Linked DNA regions of Homo sapiens: region 2 is linked to region 1. The links are contacts of gene promoters, found by promoter capture Hi-C in human tissues and cell types (Jung and others, 2019). All regions are on one chromosome and are shown on one strand. Each heading gives the region's core, a stretch centred on a gene start or on the middle of the fragment in contact. The rest is flanking DNA. Distances are from core to core; before and after follow the strand shown.

Region 1 (4,877 bases), core at 490-2,989:
CTACTAAATACTCTGCATTTCTAGAAAACTGGATAAAATTAAGGCATATAAACCTCCAAGTGGGATTTACATCCTTAGTGCAAATCAAACACAACCAGGGAAAACAAAGCTAATAAATCTAGAAACTTGTATCTTCTATAAGGCTAAAAACACAACTTGCATTACAGAAGTAGAATCTTAACTGTAATGAACTCCAATATCACTAAATGACATTTCTGCCAGTTACTTTTTTTAAAAAAAAAAGTGAAACAAAGTAATCTCTGTTTTCCATGAGCTTATAAAACGACTTCATGCTTTATCAAAGAACATCAATTACGTCATCTGAATCTACTCTCTTTTTTTGAAATAGGAATTTAAGTCTAGGTAGTTCCTCCACAATTTCCTTTATGTCCAAGTAAAATAATCCTCGATATAGGTGGAGAGAAAGGCATAACTGAATTAACTCAAAAAAGCAGAAGCAGATTAATTAGTATTCTGATAAAAAGAATATAATCATTTGGTAAAATCTGCGTTGAATTGTAAAGGTTCATTTTAATTACCCCAACTAGGTAACTGTGCAGTTGGAGCATAACAACTCCTTTACGTTCGACTCTTCCAAGACTTTGTAAGTGGCACTTATTTTAATGATATAGAATTTTGATGATATCGCCATTCTTGTAACGTGACAAATTATCTAAATCACAACATCTGCGGTCAGGCTGTTTCTCAAGATTTCTGTTCTCCTGCCAACTAAAGAGGCCCCGACTACTCCTTGGCGCGCACACTGAGGCCGCGCTGCAGGTCAGCACCGAAAGAGCCCCGCACGGATCCCGCCCCACAGGTGCGATTTACACAACCCACATCACCACCACCCCTCCCAACTTCACCACCTCTAGGGTCACCACCCTGTGGGGTTTTGTCTTTACGACTAAGCCGATTCCCTCTGCCTCGCTGGGGAATCAAACTTCCCAGTGACAACGACAGCGGCCAGCACGGGACGTCCACCAGCCCGGCAGGGCTTGACGCTGTCTCAGACCCGGGGAAGGTCCGGAGTCCGGGCACGGTGGCGCGGGGTGCGCAGCCCTGCCCACCTGCCCTACCTGGTGCGAGCCCCGGCCCCGGGGACTGGGGAGCCAACACGGCCGAGCGGGCGTGGGCAGCAGGGCGAGCGCCGGGAGAGGAGAGCGACGAGGGGGGGTCAACGGAAAGAGCGGAGTAGGGGTGCCAATCGAGGAACTTTGGATTTAGGAGGAGGGGGCCAGAACCGCCCCACTGAGGTTTCTTCCAGAAGTTCGGAGGCTTGGGAGAAAGGGGTGGGGAAGAGACCCGTAGAGGCTCGGGTGCGGCGGCGGGGAGGATCCCCGGGGTCTCTGGGCTGACGGAGTCTCCGGCCTCAGGGAGGAGTCGCCAGGGCCGCCGAAGCCGAACTGGCAGAGGAAAAGCAGAGGAAGGCGGCGCGCGAACTCGCCAGCAAAGGAGGGCTGCGCTGCTCCCGGAGCGGAGCGCCTCGCAGCCCGGACCGCGGGACTCACCGCGCTGGCGGCGGCGGCGCCAGACGACGCGGGGCCGGGCACGTCCTGCCTCCTCAGGCGGGACTTGAGGCTCTTCATGGCTAACTCTTGCCTGGCCCCCGCGCGAACCTTAAAGGCTGCGGAGTGCCAGCGCGCAAGGAGTAGACGGCAGCGGCTGCAGCAGAGGCGGCGCGGGCTGTACCAGCCCCACCTGCCTGCCACCTGCGGGCCCCGGGCAGCAGACGTCGACAGGCCTGAGGCGGGGCTCCCCTCCCGTAGCCAATTGACCCGCTGCCCTGGCGGGGGCGTGGCAAACCGCGACCAATCGGAATGCGGGAATGGGGCGGGACTTCCCTTTTAAACTGAGTAACACCCTTCCTCTCCCAGCTGGAGGAAAAGTTTGGGAACTTTAGCCCGGGAAGGGGCGGAGGAGGTGGGCGGCCAGAGGCGTGGAGATGCGCGCAGGCCGGGCTCCAGGCCACCGGCGCCCGCCCACCCGGAGCTTAAGATCTAGAGAGAGCACGGGGTCCCGCCTTTGCCACCTCTCATCTTCCCGGACTCCCCTCCTCTTTCCACCCACGCGCTCTTTACCAAGTAAAGTTCCTTCCCTTCCGTCTGGTCTTAGAAATGACTCTTGGTTACCTGCACACAGAACAGCTTTCAGGAGCAACTTCTTTTCAGTCTCCTGTTTTACTACCAAATCCTGGTGCCTGGAAACCACCACACGCATCAAAAATTCCAGAAATAAACAGTCTCTAAGAAATAAGGTGCTGATTGTGCAGAAAAACGTACAGTTAAGAAAGACCTTGAAAGACGTTATAGTAAGTTACAGTACAAGTTACGTGCTCGTTTATTTGTTGAGTGAAGAATCCGCCGTATTGGAAGCAAAGGGACGGAATGGGGGCGGGGAGGGAGGAGAAGAGGTGCCATCAATTAAAAATGACTCCCACAGCCAGTGATTTAAGTTGTCAAAAAAAGTTACGCCCTTTTTTCTTCAAAAAGGTTTTTTGTTTTCTGTAGAAACACATTACATGTAAACGTATACGATGAAGTTAAATCATCTTACCTAGAAATCTGGGTTAGTAAAAATTATTTAAGAGGATGAAGAAACAGGAAGGTGCTCAGCACCCAATAATTTGCTGTTCGGGTGACATCTTCAAAAGTCTTCTTTGGAGTCATTTTTCCCCCCAGCAAAACGTTTATCGTAGCATGCATCCATTTGAAAAGACAAACGGTCCACATTTTCTGACTAACAAAGGACTCTTTTTTGTCTGAAAGGTCAGTTGCTCTCTTTAGAGTTTCTTTATAGTAACGCAAGGTTTTCTTCAAATACTGTAAGAAAGTTTTCAGAATTTCTTGGAGAGGCAGCATTCAAAGACTGTGTTAACCCTATACAACAAGTAAATAACAACTAACTACCCAAAAATATTATTAAATTTCATCTTGATTAGATCTTTGGAAGAAAATTTTCTTTGATTCCTCCCCCTTCCTCTAGATCTCCAGTCATTTAGTTCTTGTTGGCTCTTTAAAGTGTCTGTGTATGGTCAGTTACTCTGTTCTCACTGCCACTGCAGAGCCAAAATTACCTCATACCCGGACTATTATTACAGAAGCTTCCCAGCCAGTCTCCCAACCTTCAGTCTCTTAATTGTCCCATCACCAATAAATTATCAGCCATCATCAATAAGTCTTACAAAAATACTCCTCTTGCTCAAAAGCCTTCAGCAGCTAACGAATAAAATCTAATTCTTTGCATTTAAAGCTGTATAACGTGGACGCGACCCTGTTCTCTAGCCAACACCCCAAGCGAATTACTCTTCAGCCCATTCTCCAAACATGGGTCATGGCTTTCAACTTCCACATCTTTATGCATACTGATCCCTCCCCCAATAATCTTCTGTCTGTCTACATTCATCTCAGAAAATCCTACTCCCCCAAGAGTGATTGGTAGGGGATGTCGGGGGCTTCTGGAATACTGTACTATTCTCTGTGGGTGCTGGTTACATATCTAGTGTTTTCAGATTGTGAAAATTCAATGAGCCTGTACTGTATGCAATATATTCTCTTTTATGTGTGTGTTATGCTTTAACAAAAAGTTTGTTTTTAAGTGTATGTCCCTTCCAAGTGCCCTCCTCTCTATAGAACCTTCCCTGATCAAGTAACTGGAAGTGATCTCTCCATCCTCCAAATAGTTACAGCAATTATACCTCTCATATGATACTAACACATATGAGCTGAGCAAACCTTATTTCATTACTGGACTTCAATTTACTTAAAATTGGGGAATAACTGACATATATTTGAATTCCCTAGAATGCTTAGCATGTTATAGGTGTTTAATAAATATTTCTGAATGAATTGATGCATTCTTATTGACTACTATAGCAAATTATGGTTGTTTGTTCTATGTATTTATGTGACACAGGATTGGGATTCCCCCTATTGTGAACACAGATGGAATGATCTGAGGCTATGGTCCTGCTCAAATATTTGTGTCTCAATCAACTCCTTTCTCTGGGCTTAAGATAAGCACCCATTTACCATCTAGTCCTCTGACTGAATCTTAAATGTTAATTGCTTACAAGAGCACTGTCTCAGTAATTGGCTCTTGAGTTATTAATTGCAGTGTTATGTTGTACTGGTTGTCTCCTGTAACATCCAAGTTATCATAGTCCTGGTGACTGGCCTCCTTTTCTGTTGTTACTGGATAAAGCAAAGGAAACAGACAGAACCACAAGTATAGCTTGCATCAGGTTCCAAAAATGTTGGGCAAGTTATTTTTATGAACTGTCTGGATGATGTCCCCATGGTGTCTGTGTCCAGTGGCCTTTATGGATTTTTCCAGCCTAGAAACTTGATAGCTGATGTCTGCTTATTCCCATTTGAGAGCAGCTAAGTAAATAGCACTGGTCTGAATATTCAGTAAAGCTTTTTTACATTGATCTGGAAGCTGCCTATATGAAGTAAAGTCACTATTATTAGCATTCAACCAGACAGGTTGGGTTTTATTTTGTTAACTCTTATCACTATTATTTATTTTTATCTTCCCTTCAGAGCAAAGGGCACTTATCAAACCTAGATGACCTTTTGTTTGTTATCACACTGAGCCTATATAAAATATTTTTTTGTTTTACTTCTTTTTTTTTTCCAATATTTATTTATTTACAATATATACCAGGAAGGGTAATGCATTTTTTAAAATTACTTTACTAGATTATATATACACATGGTAATCTCAAATAATACAAATGGAGCAAGTTGATCTGCTTACCACCCCTATTTTGATCCCTGCTGTCAAGGAACTTGTGTTCTGGATTAGATAACAAATGTGTAAGCTGTATGCTAACACATACAGTTTAACTGGACAATCGCTTACTGAATCGTGTA
Region 2 (5,108 bases), core at 754-3,253, 200 kb before region 1:
TGGACCAGGATCTCCACCCTGGACTTGCCTCCTATGTCATCCCCTAATCAAGTCAGGGCACTTCAATTGTATGGTGACTCCCCATCCCTGACCAGGGTTGCTCTCTGGGTTTGGAGGATTGGAGCAGGATGTCATGGAAACAGGATACTGGGAAGAAAACCAGGAGAGAAGCAAATGCAGCATGGATGGCATGGGAGGCAGAAGCTTCCTAGAATCGACAAGATGGCCAGTCCACCCCATCAGCCCCTTCCACATTGTCTACAGAGGCAATAGGCCACTTTTTCAATCACGCATTTTGTTGTTGTTCTTGTTGTTTGAGTCAGGGTCTCACTCTGTTGACCAGGCTAGGGTACAGTGGCATGATCATAGCTCACTGCAGCCTTGGTGATTTATCTACCACTATATAGTAACTCAGCTCTGCTTCCAAACTGAGATTTTTGTTTCTGGCATAAACTGGGTGTTATTTTTCAAGGATGTATTCTTATCACCAGATGGGGTCATTTTCTATTTTATTCAAGTCAATCGATAATGAAAAATAAATAAAAACAAAGGACTGAGAAGGCCGTTTTCTTTTTTAAATCTCACTACTTTTTTGGAAGAAACTAATCTATTCCCACTTCCCCTCCAGTCATCACCACCAAATTAATCTTTTTATTTTTTTGATAATGTAGACATATATATAAATAATATAGGTTATATACATTCACATATATTTTAACCAAAATGCAGTTATGCTACATCTTGCTGCAATTTGCTGTTTTATCACTTAACATTTAAACTTTATCTGTGACCCTTTCCAAGTGGGTGCCTCAGGAAACCCACTGCCTCATTCTAATGCCAGCTCTGACTTCTCACAGCTGTGTGACCTCGTGCAGGCTAATAACCTTTCTGGGCCTCTTGTGCATCATGTGGATGACAACATTGCCTACTTCATAAAGTTGTTGAGAGGGTTAAATGAGGTGACATATATAAAACACTCACATCAGTGCCCAGCACAAGACAAATGCTCGGAAAACAGCTCTTACTACACAAGTCTACCTCATTTCTTTCAGAGACTAGAATTTCATTGCCTAGATATTCCTTAATTTATCTGACCCATGTTCTTTGATGGAAATTTAAACTTTTAGAAACTTGGCTCTTAAAATAAGCAGTAATACAGTGAATATCCTTGGACATATATCTTTATACATTTATGCTACAATTTTTGGAGGGTAAATTTCTGGAGGAGAGACCGCCAGATTATTCAGTAAGCACATTTTAGGTTGATACGTCTTTTACTAAATTTCCCTTCGAAGGTGTGTGGCACTTTACCAGCAGTGTGTGTGTGTTGTGTTCATTTCTTCATTCTCACCAGTTCTTTTTAACTGGACAAGCAAAAACTAATGCTGCATTGCTGTTTTCATTTACATTTCTTTAGGCATTAGTGAGGCTATCTTGTAATTGTTTCCTCTTTAATGAAGTGGTTGTATATAACGTGTGTGTGTGTGTGTGTATGTGTGTGTGTTGCCCACTTGTCCATTTTTGCTGTTTCTGATCAATTTGAAGGAATACATTCTATAGTGTGGACATTCACAGTTTTCCTGCTAGAATATGTAGCAAATACTTTCTCCCAGACTGTAATTTATGTTTTGATTTATTTAAGGTACCTTTGACAATACAGTTTGGGTTTTTTTCTTTTTAGGTGGTCCAATCTGCCAAACTTTTCTATTGTGGTTTCTGGGTTTGGTGTTAGATTAAGAAAGGCCTGGTCGGGCGCAGTGGCTCACACCTGTAATCCCAGCACTTCGGGAGGCCGAGGCGGGTGGATCACCTGAGGTCAGGAGTTCGAGACCAGCCTGGCCAACATGGTGAAACTCCGTCTCTACTATAAATACCAAAAATTAGCAGGGCGTGGTGGCAGGCGCCTGTAATCCCAGCTACTCAGGAGGCTGAGCAGGAGAATTGCTTGAACCTGAGAAGCAGAGGTTGCAGTGAGCTGAGATCACACCATTGCACTCCAGCCTGGGCAACAAGAGCAAAACTCCGTCTCAAAAAAAAAAAAAAGAAAGTCCTTTTCCCCACCACTACCCTCCCAAAACACACACACACACACACACACATATACAGTTTGTTAATAATTTTAATGTGCAGTTCTTTAATTTATCTGGGACTTCCTATTGTGCACATTACAAGGTAGATGCCCGATTTTATCCTTTTGCATGTAGATAGTGATTTCTGCCATAGCTCAAAGTGTCTCTAGACTCCAAGTGGCTCCCCTATAGGACTAAGGCTCTCTGAACTTGAGTCGGTCTAGCCTGGGCAGGAAGGTGGGCTGCCGAGGAAGCAGTTCCCTCCCCCGTCCTTCCTCCCTTTCCATTTATTGTATCCAGCGACAGCCAGTGTTGGAGGCTCCTCCACTCAGACAGCAGGGGAGCAAGAGGGCTGCCGAGAGAGCTGTGAACACTACATCACTTGAACACAGCATTACGGGAATGGTCAGAGCCTGAGCTACAGTTGTCCTGGGAACGCAGTAACTTATGTGCCCAGAGAAATCATTTTCCTGGAAGATGCATTTTAGGCAGCACGGAGGCTCAGGTGACCCTTATATCATCTGGTCACAGGTTTCTGTGGATTTACACATGCTGGCTTCCCACAACAGAAAGAAATCTAATTACCGGTGGAATAACTTACAGGTAAGGGGACCTCCAGTGGGCGCCCAGCCTGGCTGTAAATCCTCAGAGCTAGATCCTGAGGAAAGTGAGCTGGTGCTCGGACCTGGACACCTCGCAGCTCAGAGGACAGCCACCACCTCGAACCCGGGGCTGGGTGGGAGAGCAAATGGGTGGCAGAGCACATGTGGGTTTCCAGGGCTTGGAAAGGTAAAGAACATCAGACTGGGCCTCCAAATGCCTGGGCTCTTTCTGCTACTAACTGCCAGGATGACCATAGCTTCTCATTTAACATATTTTCTCAGTTTCCCTGTGCTAGATTATTGGTTAGCAGGTATTAAGCCACATCCCAGGGGCCATGTGATATACTTTAAATACATATCCCCAGTTTGCACAACAGCCCTGGAAAATGAGAATTAGGATTCCCATTTGACATATGTAGAAACAAGATCCGAGAGGTCAAGTGGATTCGTTCAGAGTGACTTTGGAAGAAAGTGGCAGAGCTAAAATTGCAATCCTCTCACCCAAGCCTCACACTGCAGCGTGTTCCACAGGATCCATGTTTGTGAGTGTGGTGGGCAGGGCCCTGTGCTGCTGGGGGACCTTAGAATGTGCATGAGGAAGCTTCCCTGGGCCTCTCACAAAGACCTTGGGGTGACTCCCAGGACTTCTCCCTTCCTTGGCCTCGGCGTGGCCTTCGCTCCAGTGACACGTATACAAGGCAGCCGTGGCCTGGTCTGCACAGTTGCCCGGCATCCTGCTCCAAGGCCTTCTGCCATGCCAAGAACCACATCCTTCTCTGGCTATGCGTAAAGATGAGAGGGCCGGGCACGGTGGCTCATGCCTATAATCCCAACGCTTTGGGAGGCCAAGGTGGGCAGATCATGAGGTCAGGAGTTCGAGACCAGCCTGGCCAACAAAGTGAAACCCTGTCTCTACTAAAGATACAAAAAATTAGCCGGACATGGGGTCATACGCCTGTAATCCCAGCTACCTGGGAGGCTGAGGCAGGAGAATCGCTTGAACCCTGGAGGTGGAGGTTGCAGTGAGCCGAGATCGCGCCATTGCACTCTAGCCTGGGCTATAGAGAAGAGACTCCATCTAAAAAAAAAAAAAAAAATGAAGAGAGTACGCAGGCCTGCCCAAACAGCCCAAACATTGGCAGGGGCCAGGGAAATTGACAAATGGGGACCACATACCATGTGTCTACATGTGTGAGTTACCACTCAGGCTGCCATCTCATAACACATGATGTTCTGCTGCTACCTTGACCCACAAATACCTTCATAACAATTTTAAAGGATGAATAAAGTTGTGGTTTTTAGATACGACTGAAAGTCTTAGCAATATCAAAGATGGATTCAATTATTGTACATGTCTGTGCAGCCCATTGATGGATGGGCTGTTGATATTTGGATGAGTAATAAAATAGAGACATAATCCATATATTATTTCATATTAATATACACTTTTTGCCTTCATTTTAGCAAAGTCTTCAAGTACATTAATCCTTACAAAACTTTGTTCCATTGATAATAATTGTCAAAGATTTAAAAATAAAGTATAACTGTATTCAAAGAGAATAAACTGTGATTATACTTTTATTTTTTAAATATCTTAAAGTTATGTACAAATTGAATATTTTTCAAATATGATTTCAGCAAGTTATTTTTCTTCTAAAATATTCTAAATTGCTATAAAAAGCAAAATATAAATCATAATTAATGGATATGAATATTTTTAACCAAAGGTACTTAAAGCTGAAACAAACATTTAAAATTAGATATTAAATATTTTTATACAAATAAAAATTTACAATTCTAGTATTCAATATATGTTTGCCAATGTTACACTTTACACGTCACGTCTTGAGCTGCATACATAGTAATTTAAGAGTAATACGAATCATTGATTATTGCAAAATATGCCTCAGCATCCATATGCAAGTGTTGTGAATTCTGTGTTCATTCTTATCTCCAGAACCAGGAATTAGAACATGCAGAGAAGCAAGAAAATGAATGTTTGGCACTACTGGGAAACAATAATTTGTTATACAAGAATCTATTGCATTCAAGCTGAGAGGAAGGATTTGACAAACTCATTAATTTGCCTTTTCTCTTACCCAAGCACTTCTGCTCAAATTCTCCCTGTTCTCCGAAGCAGTGTCTCTGAGGCTGTTGGAGTGAACAACACACAGCCTTCATGGTGTTTGATGCAGTTTTCCAGGACCCAAGGCAAGAAATGTGCGGAAGGGTTTCCCTGGGGTCTGAATGGTCATAGTCATGAGAGCTGGTCCTTAGAGTTGCAGGTTGTGCTGGGCTAGCATTGAGCTTCAGATTCTAAGTGTCGAGGCAGCCATGCGTTCTTTAGTGTGTGTGTGTGTGTGTGTGTGTGTGTGTGTGTGTGTGTGTGTGTGTGTGTGTGTGTGATATGCAGGGGCCTCTAAAGTATAAAGTGCAA

Evidence for each region. The method cuts DNA at HindIII sites, captures the fragments that hold promoters and counts their contacts. A contact is called where the count stands out against the background at its distance.
Region 2: a fragment that was not itself captured here is called in contact with the fragment with the promoter of UACA in region 1 in 2 of the 25 tissues and cell types used here (mesenchymal stem cells and mesendoderm cells).

The regions. Positions count from the first base shown.
Region 1 is chr15:70,761,819-70,766,695 of GRCh38, forward strand. It overlaps UACA (uveal autoantigen with coiled-coil domains and ankyrin repeats), which reads right to left and starts at 1,740. Exons shown (of 19, transcript NM_018003.4): 1 at 1,512-1,740. The coding sequence starts at 1,589. RefSeq lists a silencer at 1,505-1,914. The HindIII fragment of the contact is 5,114 bases long and covers 1-3,760 here.
Region 2 is chr15:70,563,857-70,568,964 of GRCh38, forward strand. No RefSeq gene overlaps it. Among named protein-coding and RNA genes, the nearest start is that of LINC02204, 20 kb to the right of the region's middle. The HindIII fragment of the contact is 4,641 bases long and covers 1-4,324 here.